Linked DNA regions of Homo sapiens: region 1 is linked to region 2. The links are contacts of gene promoters, found by promoter capture Hi-C in blood cells and fetal thymus (Javierre and others, 2016). All regions are on one chromosome and are shown on one strand. Each heading gives the region's core, a stretch centred on a gene start or on the middle of the fragment in contact. The rest is flanking DNA. Distances are from core to core; before and after follow the strand shown. Region 1 holds the start of SDS (serine dehydratase). Region 2 overlaps SLC8B1 (solute carrier family 8 member B1).

What was found. Contacts are between HindIII fragments. The CHiCAGO score rates a contact against its expected background, and 5 or more counts as called.
Region 1: the fragment with the promoter of SDS here is called in contact with a fragment that was not itself captured in region 2 in 1 of 17 cell types (M0 macrophages); the score reaches 5.4 in M0 macrophages.

The regions. Positions count from the first base shown.
Region 1 is chr12:113,401,242-113,406,591 of GRCh38, forward strand. SDS (serine dehydratase) reads right to left here and starts at 2,646. Exons shown (of 8, transcript NM_006843.3): 1 at 2,527-2,646. RefSeq lists enhancers at 83-584, 585-1,084. The HindIII fragment of the contact is 9,232 bases long and covers 1-2,801 here.
Region 2 is chr12:113,328,760-113,333,999 of GRCh38, forward strand. It overlaps SLC8B1 (solute carrier family 8 member B1), which reads right to left. Exons shown (of 16, transcript NM_001358345.2): 2 at 3,964-4,201. The coding sequence starts at 4,119. Among named protein-coding and RNA genes, the nearest start is that of SLC8B1, 3.7 kb to the right of the region's middle. The HindIII fragment of the contact is 1,455 bases long and covers 3,264-4,718 here.

The sequences.
Region 1 (5,350 bases), core at 1,396-3,895, 71 kb after region 2:
AAATATTTATTTAAAAAAAAACAAAATAACCTAACTTTTGGGAAGCCCAATATTCAGTTAGGAAAAGCTCTTTCATAATTATTAATTTTGTCATAATTATTATAGCAGTGACTAATCACAGCTTTTAAATTTTATTCATTCATTCATTCATTCATTCATTCATTCATTCCAGTAGAGATGGGGTTTTGCTATGTTGGCCAGGCTGGTCTCCAACTCCTGGCCTCAAGCGTTCTGCCCACCTCAGCCTCCCAAACTGCTGGGATTACAGGCATGAGCCACAGCACCTGGCTTGCTGTTGTTTTAAGTCACATTTTGGGGTAGTTTGGTACACAGCAACAGGAAGGGGAATATTAACATAATTTGCCCAAAGTCACGCTGTGAGTGAGGCAGGGAGGCAGGATTTGAACTCGGGCAGCTGGCTCCAGGGCTCAGGCTCTCTCTGCGACCCATGGGTGTGGCTCAGGCTCCTGCTTCTGGATGGGCTCTGGGGGATGAAGCAGCTGGGGTGGCCCGGGGTCTAGCCACAGCCACGTCCACCCACCCAGCCTTCCCATCTCCCCTGCCTTCTGCTGAGAGTCTCAGGGAGGATTTGATTCTCCTCAACTTGGGCCGGGCCAGAAGAGATCAGCTGACGATGGCCAAGGGGCTCTCTGGTTCCCCCTCCCTCCACCATCCCAGAAGGCCAGGCAAGGGTGGCTAGCCAGAGACCCATCTCCAATGCCACCTTGTCCAGCCCCCTGTCCTGGGCACTCCTAGCTTGGACATCCATCCCCCGCTCCCAGAATGAGCCAGACATCCCTTGGTCAGAGGGAGAATGAGGGGTGGGGATTCCAACTGCCCCGCCAGACTTAGCATCCCCTAAATAGGTCACCCCTTGTCTATCTGAATTAACTGACATTCGGGGCCTGGGAGGGGAACTTGAACAGACACCCTCTCTCCGCTGGATCTCTCGAATAAAAATCAGAGACTGGGGCAAACTTCAAAACAGGACATCCCCAAATCGGCATGAACTTTCAGCTCCTGGAGGTTAATCCCCAAACAATGGGATCCCGGTTTTTATTTAGTTATTTTTAGAGAACCTCCCTCTGTCACCCAGGCTGGAGTGCAGCGGCATGATCTCGGCTCACTGCAACCTCCGCCTTCTGGGTTCAAGCGATTTTCCTGCCTCAGCCTCCCAAGTAGCTGGGATCACAGACGTGCACCACCACGCCCGAATAATTTTTGCATTTTTAGTGGAGACAAGGTTTCACCATATTGGGCAGGCTGGTCTCGAACTCCTGACCTCAAGTCATCTGCCTGCCTTGGCCTCCCAAAGTGCTGGGATTACAGGCGTGAGCCACCACACCGACTGACTTGACATTAAAGGCCGGTGTAGGTCACCAAGGCCTGGCCTCAGGGACAATCGGGGTGGGAGTCAGAGGAGCCGGCCACGAAGACCCTTTTCAGGTGGGTTTGGGGCGCCTCTCTCGCCGTTTGTCCCAGGCGGTGCCATGGGATGCCTTCAGGTAAAAGGACAGGGCTCCCTCTGCCGCGGCTTTCCGTGAAGTGAGCATCCATTAACTGCATCCAGCCTGCCCCAAGGATCCCTGCCCCAAGGATCGCAAGACTTCAGAAGAGGTTGTGCCCGGGGAGGAGGAGGGAGGGAGCCCTGAAGCCGCTGTCTGCCCACTCCGGCAGTCGGAAGCCACCTTCCCTTTCACTTGGTTCACAGTAAGTGCTCAGTCGATATGAACTATTATGAAATCTGGGCTGGACACCTTAAGTGCAGGTCATCCTTTCACCGTCACAACCACCTGAGGAGGAAGGCGCTATGCTCATCCCCATTCTACAGATGTGGAAGCTGAGGCACAGAACTGGACACAAACTCAGTGTTTAGGCCCAAATGGCTGTTTTTTAAAAATTTGAGACAAGGTCTTGCTGTGTCACCCAGGCTGGAGTGCAGGGGCGCAATAATTGCTCACTGCAGACTCGACCTCTTGGGCTCCAGCGATCCTCCCAACTCAGCCTTCCCAGTAGCTGGGACTACAGGTGTGCACCACCACACTATACTAATTAAATTCTTTTTTTAGGTCAGGAGTTCGAGACCAGCCTGGCCAACATGGTGAAACCCCATCTCTACTAAAAATACAAAAATTAGCCGGGCGTGGTGGCACACGCCTGTAGTCCAAGCTACTCGGGAGGCTGAGGCAGGAGAATCGCTTGAACCCAGGAGGTGGAGGTTGCAGTGAGCCCAGATTGTGCCATTGCACTTCAGCCTGGGTGACAGAGTGAGACCTCTGTCTTAAAAAAAAAAAATTTTTTTTGTAGAGATTGGGGGGGGTCTCACTCTGTTGCCCAGCTCAGTCTTGAACTTGTGGCCTCAAGCAACCCTCCCACCTCAGCCTTCCAAAGTGTTGGGATTACAGGCATCAGCCACCATGCCCAGCCTTGACAGACTCTTTCTATGTCTCCCTCTTCCCCTGGGAAACCACAGGCTAGCCCGGGACACTCCAGTCCTGAGGTGGGACTGAGGATGGGGCCACTTACCCGGCAAAGGTGATGGGTCTGAGCAGGAGTCAGAGCCAAGCCAGCGAGGGAGGGATCAACTGAGTAGATAGCCCACGAAGAGAGGGGGCTGAGGACGGGTGGACAGTCTTCTGAATGGTCCCAGGGGCTACTTGGTCCTGGGCTTTATTCCTCTGGCACCTCTGGGCAGCCAATGGGGCCCTGGGGCTGGCTACACCCCCCCCTCCCTCCTGCCAGGACCCACCCCCCTGGCTTGAGGCCACTGAGGCTGTCAGAAGGGAGGTGGAATCTGGCCAAGCTTTCTTCTTTGGCAGCTTCCTCCTGCCTTTCCCACAACCCACTCCTCCTCCCTCTTTCCACTTCCCCTTTCTGTCCTCAGTTTCGTGAAAGGAAAATAAAAAATTGGGACCCCCAACTCACTATGCCAAAAGAAAAAGAATTAAGCTAAAAGCTGAGTCATGTAAGAAACTGCCTTTCCTTTAGTTCCTAAGCAGATAGCTTCAGATGAAAGGTTAAATATTGGCTCCGCATTTTGGGAGGCCGAGGCGGGTGGATCACCTGAGGTCAGGAATTCGAAACCAGCCTGGCCAACATGGTGAAATCCCGTCTCTACTAAAAATACAAAAATCAGCCGGGTGTGGTGGCACGTGCCTGTAATCCTAGCTACTCAGGAGGCTGAGGCACAAGAATTGCTTGAACCTGGGAGGCAGAGGTTACAGTGAGACTAGATCTCGCCACTGCACTCCAGCCTTCACAACAGAAAGAAAAAAAAAAGTTAAATATCTCCACAGGTCGCTACTCTATGTTCACCTTATCTTATGTAAAGTGCCGATTTATTGAGATCAAGACAAATACATAATTGGCTACTTCCCTATCTGCCCCTCTTCTCTTACAAACTGTGGATTTGGTAATGTGGCCATAGCCTCCTTCTTTCCCCTCCAGCTTGCTTTTCTCCTTTAAATACTGACACCTAAAGTCATCTCTGGAGAAAAGCACAGACCTGTCTCCCAGGTGCATTCTTAACCCTGGCGAAATAAATTTCTAAATGGATTGAGTCCTGTCTCAATCTTTTTGATTCTTTTTGATTTACAGATTGGAGACTCATGAAAGGGACCCTGGGTGGAGGTGGCCCTGACCTTTGACAAGTCTCCTACTGGTGCTTGGTGGGTCTTGCTCTGTCACCCTGGCTGGAGTGCAATGGCATGATCTTGGCTCACTGCAACCTCCATCTCCTGGGTTCAAGCGATGCTCCTGTTTCAACCCCCCAAATAACTGGGAGTATAGGCATGTGCCACCACACTCAGCTAATTTTTTGTATTTTTAGTAGAGATGGGGTTTCACCATGTTAGCCAGGCTGGTCTTGAAGTCCTGACCTCAAGTGATCCACCCGCCTCAGTCTCCTAGAGTGCTGGGATTACAGGCGTGAGCCACCATGCCGGCCTTGAGCGATCTTGATTGCCCTCCAAAATAGGACAGTTTGCTGAGGCCTGGGAGCTCCCCACCTCCAGAGAACTCCTGATCTCCCACAATTGGTTGATATCTAAGCTTGATTTCCCTGAACAGCTCCTTTTCTGCGTTTTACTCACTTCCAACAAGGAAGGTGAGTTTTCTGGCTTCCATGATGATGGCAAGCAGGCAGCTCCTTTCTGGAGTTTCGCTTGTGTCCGGCAGGGAAGGCAAGTTTGAGATTTCCCCGCTTCTAGGATGGTAGAGAGCGGTCTTCAGCCTGGGCCCCATGACTAGAAGTTAGGGTTAACAACCAGCTGGTCTTAATTTCTCCCTACTTTTAGAGCGTGCAGTAATCGTATAAATTGCTTGATTGTTTGTTTCCCTTGCTTAACTGTTTTTGTTTCTGTTGTTGTTTTGTTGCTTCTGTCTTTTCCCCATTGGACTGGACCAACTCCATTTGACTTGGTCAAATCTGAAGGAAAGTTTCATATTATGGCGAACAAGGTCTCATGAATTGGCTAAATACCCACAGCTGGAAAAAAAAAAAAAGGAAAAAGAAAAAACAGCCAGCAAAAGAAAAAAGAGAGAGAGAGACAAGGATTTTGATTACCTGAGGGGCATTATTTACATAACAAGGCCATCTTTTGCTAGCCAAGCCAAACTGAAAGAGGCTACATGGCTGTCACCTCACGCTAGTTCAGTAGCTAAGATTCTGTTCCTTTTTCACCACCGTGGCCTGGGCTTGGTTCCTAAATCAAGTCCTTTCTGGTTTGATGTTTGTGTTACTTTTGAAATATTAGCAGTTTGTCCCAGCTAAAATATGGTGATGAGATTTAAAAGGATTTTTTAAAGAGCTCAATGGTTAAAAGCTTAATTAAAGGCGAATATCTAAGATGTGTGTGTGTGTGTGTGTGTGTGTGTATTTATTTATTTATTTATTCATAGGGCCTTAATGCATTTTTTTCTCTCTTAGGATCTGTTTTTTTTTTGAGATGGAGTCTTACTCTGTCGTCCAGGCTAGAGTGCAGTGGCATGATCTCAGCTCACTGCAACCTCCACTCCCTGGGTTCAAGTGGTTCTCCTGCCTCAGCCTCCCAAGTGGCTGGGATTACAGGCGCACACCACCACACTGGGCTATTGTTTTTGTATTTTTAGTAGAGACAGGATTTCACCATGTTGGCCAGGCGGGTCTTGAACTCCTGGCCTCAAGTTATTCACCGGCCTTAGGCTCCCACAGTGCTGGGATTACAGGTGAGAGCCGCCCCACTTGGCCAGGATCTTGTTTTTTGAGAAAAAGTTTTCTTTTTTCTTCTCAGTTGACTGATTTCTGTTTTTTCCAATTTACTTCTGCCTGTCTCCTTTCTCTTGCCACCCTCTACAGCTCAAGGAACCTAAA
Region 2 (5,240 bases), core at 2,741-5,240:
TTCCTTTTTTGAGATGGAGTCTTACTCCATCGCCCAGGCAGGAGGGCAGTGGTATGATCTCAGCTCACTGCAACCTCCATCTCATGGGTTCAAGAGATTCTCCTACCTCAGCCTCCCGAGTAGCTGGGATTGCAGACGTCCACCACCATGCCCAGGTAATTTTTGTATTTTAGTAGAGATGGGGTTTTGCTATGTTGGCCAGGCTGGTCTCGAAATCCTGGCCTGAAGTGATCCACCTGCCTCGGCCTCCCAAAGTGCTGGGATTACAGGTGTGAGCCACCGCACCCAGGCAGGATCATAGACTTGCTTAATATCTGCCCCTCCCACTAAAGTCTCGCACAGTGCCTGGCAGAGTAGGCCCTCCTAACAGTTGTGCTGCACACCGTGCTGGGCATCATCTCACCCATTCAGTCTTCATCAGAGACCCAGGAGGTTGGCACAATTGTTTCCACTTCACAGATGAGAAAACTGAGGCACAGAGAGGCAAAGTGGCTTGCCCAGGAGCACACAGCCCACCACTGAGAAGTGGCTCCAAACTCAGCTCCGCCTGAAAGTTACTCGCTGAAGCTCCTGAGGAAACTGCCCAACTGGGCAGGGGCAGCCTCCATTTCCTGTCCTCTCACTATCTTCCTGCCCTCCCTCCTCCCTGTCCTCGGGGTCAGCTAGGGAGGATGCAGGGAGTCACCCCATCTCCCTGATGGCAGAGTGAGTCAGCAAGGTGGGTCCCCCAAATCTGGCCTCCAAAATCACATTACTGTGCAGTCTGTCTCGCTCTGCCCTCCCCGAGCTGCACAGCCCTCCCCCAGGTCCCTCAGGACCCCTCCCCAGCTCTCTGCTCAAGAGAGACAGAGTAAGGTGGGATTGCTCTGCGTCTGGGGGAGGGAAGGAGTGACTTCACTTCCTTCCAGTCCTTCCCACCCTCTTTCCTATGTCACTAACTCAGTCCCAGGAAACCCAAAGAGGTGCACACAGAGGTCAGGCTGGACAGGAAAGGGTAACCAACTCAATACCTTGGAATTCTTATAAAAACTTACATCAGATCACATCCTCTTGTGCTCTAAAGCCTCCCATGGCTCCCACCTTCCTCCCACTGACAGCCAAGTCTACAGTGGTCCCCAGGGCCCCTGTTCTCTCCTGCCTGGTCTCCCTTCCTTCTCCCTTGCTCACTGTTCCAGCCACTTTGCAAAATCTGTCATTCTGCTCCTGCCCCAGGGCCTTTGCATCTACTGTTCCCTCACTTCCCCTGGATCTTCATAAGCCATTCAGGTCTCAGTCTAAATGTCATGTCCTCAGAGAGGCCTTCCATGATAGCCTAAGCAAAGCAGCACCCCCCTCCCCCTCACCCTGTGGAATGATTTGTCAACTTGCTTCTCATCCATGACCCCACTAGAGTATAAGCTCCAGGGGGGCAGGGACCAGGCTCTCTGCTTCCTGCTATCCCCTCAGCACATGGCACAGGCCCTGGCACATAGTAGGTGCTCAATAACTATTTGTTGCATTAATGACTACTTGAAAAGGACCTAAGGTAAGGGGCTGGGGGGGCCTTTCCCAGCCTGCAGGCTCCCTGGATGGTGGGGACTTCCAGAAAGGCAGCTGCCCCATCTGTCCTGTGAGGCGGTGGACTAGAGGGGAAGGGGATGGATTTAGCATGAAGCAGCCAAGGGTTCTCATCCTGGCTCTGCCACTTTCCTCCTGGCCACCTTCACCTCCCTGAACCTTGGAGTCTTCATCTATAGCACAGAGATAATCACTCCCACCTCACGGGGTTTGGGGGAGGACTTGTGGGCACAAGGCTGATCTAAGTGCTCAATAACTTGGAGAGATTATCTGGCACAATTATCTGGTATGATCTCCCAGTTTTCCTGCCCCCAAGGAGCACGCTCCAAGAGGGGGTACTCAATTTTATAACCACAGTAACCACAAACCACTTTCCCATCTGTAAAATGGGCTTAATTGCCTGTTGCCTGTTTCACAGGGTGGACTTGAAGGCACTTTGCAGCCTCATAAAGTTGCTGTGGGCATTGAATGCTCTCAGCCCATCAGTTTGAGTTTGGGATTCCTGCTGAAGAAATGGTGAGAACTCCAGTCCCTGGCAGCTACAGGGCACTCCAGGGGGTCATCTTGAGCAGTCCTCTGCTTTTGTTCCTTCACTCCAGATCTGCTGTGACCTCCTCTTCTCCCCTTACAGACATCAGAGCGGAAAGATGCAAGTTCTCTGTAGCCTGTCTCAACAGGCTGTGCCCTCCCTGCCCTGGGAGGAAGGCCTCTTGCCTCTAACTCCAGCGTCGTCATTGGTCCTCCCTCAGTGCTCCCCATTCAAATCACAGCACCAGCACACCCTCAGCTGATCAGGCCAGGAACCTGGAGCCATCCACAACTCCTCTCTTTCTCCCACCACTGGGAGAAAGAGAGAGGGTGGGAGTTCAATACCAGCCTGGCCAACATGGTGAAACCCTGTTTCTACTAAAAATACAAAAAAATTAGCCAGGTGTGGTGGTGTGCACCTGTAATCCCAACTACTCGGGAGGCTGTGCATAAGAATCGCTTGAACCCGGGAGGTGGAGGTTGCAGTGAGCTGAGATCGTGCCATTGCACTCCAGCCTGGGTATAGAGTGAGACTGTTCTCGAAAAAAAAAAAAAAAAAAAAAATTGAGTCAGTGGACTGGGAAAAGCAGACCCACCCTCAATCTGGGTGGGTGCAATCTAATCAGCTACCAGCACAGCCAGAATAAAAGCAGGCAGAAGAATGTGGAAAGACTAGACTGGCTTGGTCTTCTGGCCTGCATCTTTCTCCCATGCTGGATGCTTCCTGCCCTCAAACATCAGACTCCAAGTTCTTCAGCTTTGGGACTCTTGGACCTTCAGCCACAGACTAAAGGCTGCACTGTCAGCTTCCCTGCTTTTGAGGTTTTGGGACTCAGACTGACCTCCTCGCTCTTCAGCTTGCAGATGACCTATTGCGGGACCTCACCTGTGATCATGTGAGTCAATATTCCTTTAAAAACTCCCCTTTACATATACATCTATCCTATTAGTTCTGTCCCACTAGAGAACTCCGACTAACACAGATTTTGGGACCCTCTGCTTAAAACCTTCCATTGGCTCCCCACTATCGCAAAACAATTCTCACCTCCTAGCCGCAGCCTGTAAGGCCTTTTGTAATCTGCCCGCCATTACCTCTCCATCCTCCTCTCTTAGCATTCTTCCCCTCACTTGCTCTGTTCCATCCATTCTAGCCTCCCTGCTGTTACGGGAACACACTAAGCTTGTTCCTGCTCCAGAATCTTTGTACTTGCTGTTCCCTTTGCCCAGAATGCTCTTCCCCGGGGTGTCAATGTAGGTGGTTTCCTCTCTCCATTCGCTGGCTTGCCTCAAATATCACCCCCTCACAGAAGCCATCTGTGACCACCCAATCTGAAATAGTTGGAAAAGCTCACGCCCTCCCCCATACCACTTTAGCTATTGTGTGCGGGGCACTTAGCACATCGCCACCTGAAATGTATATGCTTACTTCTCTTTTTTTTGTTGTTGAGACAGAGTCTTGCTTCGCCGCCCAGGCTGGAGTGCAGTGGTACAATCCTGGCTCACTGCAACATCCACCTCACGGTTTCAAGCAATTCTCCTGCCTCAGGGTTCTGATGATTACAGGCACCTGCCACCATGCCCAGCTAATTTTTGTATTTTTAGTAGATACGGGGTTTTGACACGATGGCCAGGCTGGTCTCCAGCTCCTGGCCTCAAGTGATCCTCCTGCCTTGGCCTCCCAAAGTGTATAAGTTTACTTCTTGATCTGTCTGTTCAGGAGACTGTCAGCTTCTTGAGAGTAGTGAATTTTGTCTCTATTGTTCCCCGGTATATCCCAGGCTGCGGTCAGTGCCTGGCACATAGTAGATGCTCAATAGATATTTATCGATTGGAGGAACACAGCCCCACTCAACCCCAGGTTCCTACCGGGATACTCACGTCTACCACGGGGGTCTGGTTCACACCTGAAGCTGGAAACTGGGGGCTAATGTGAGCTCCTGTAGACGAGCCCCTAGTCCCAGACACTGTCTCCGCCATTAGCAGCACACAAAGCACACTCAGTGCCCAGCGCAGATTCAGCCTTCTGCCGGCCATCTGCCCCCACGGGGCCTGGCCCTTACTCTCCACTTCCCTTTCTGCAGTAGCTCAGTTCCAAACAGCTGGCGGCTCCGGTGGCCTGCAAGGTGGGAGTGAGAAAGGGGGACAACATTACTGAAAACCCATGGACACAGCAAAAGGGGCTGGAAGACTCTAGTTAAGGAACTGCCTTCCTGCCTCCCGGCAGCAAAGTTAAGCTGACGGAGAAACCATGTTCTGCACAGTCTCGCTGGAGGGGCCCAAGGCCCTGCCCATTCAGCGTGCAGATCAGATACGCCCTTCTTCCTGAGAACCCATGAAAACCTACCCAGTCCCACCTGGCCCCCAGCCTGAGGCCAGAATGCCAGGGCTGCAAGGGACTTGGGACTTGAGCCAAGATTCAGAGTCTCAGGCTTCTGGGGCAGGTGGGTGAGATACATGTGGGAAGTGGGCAGTGGGCGGGATTGCAGAAGCCCTCAAAACAAAACAAAACAAACTCTACTTCTAGGGGTGGACTTGGCCTCTGGGCCACCAGTTTGAGACGTAGAGAGGCTTGCCCACCACATTTTACAGAGCCCACTAAGCAATGCTGTTGTTCTGTGTCTTACAAGGAGCCAAGCTTTACATGGATGACCTCATTCTATCCTCACGACATGCCGAGCGGGGGTAGCACTAGCATTCCATTTTACAGATGAACTAACTGAGGCACAGACAGGTGAAGCCAGGCTTGTTTCCCCCCTGCATCACGCCTCCCTCATGCAGTCCTCAGAACAATTCTGGAAATGTCACCCCCCCGCCCCCCACCCCACCCTGCACAGCAGGGAGAGGGGCTCAGAGGAGTGTTTTTTGTTTTTTGTTTGTTTCTTCAGATGGAGTCTCACTCTGTTACCCAAGCTGGAGTGCAGTGGCGCGATCTCAGCTCACTGCAACCTCTGCCTCCCGGGTTCAAGTGATTCTCCTGCCTCAGCCTCCCGAGTAGCTGGGATTACAGGCACACACCACCATGCCCAGCTAATTTTTGTATTTTTAACGGAGACGGGGTTTCGCCATGTTGGCCAGGCTGGTCTGGAACTCCTAGCCTCAAGTGATCTGCCGGCCTTGACCTCTCAAAGTGCTGGGACTACAGGCGTGAGCCACCA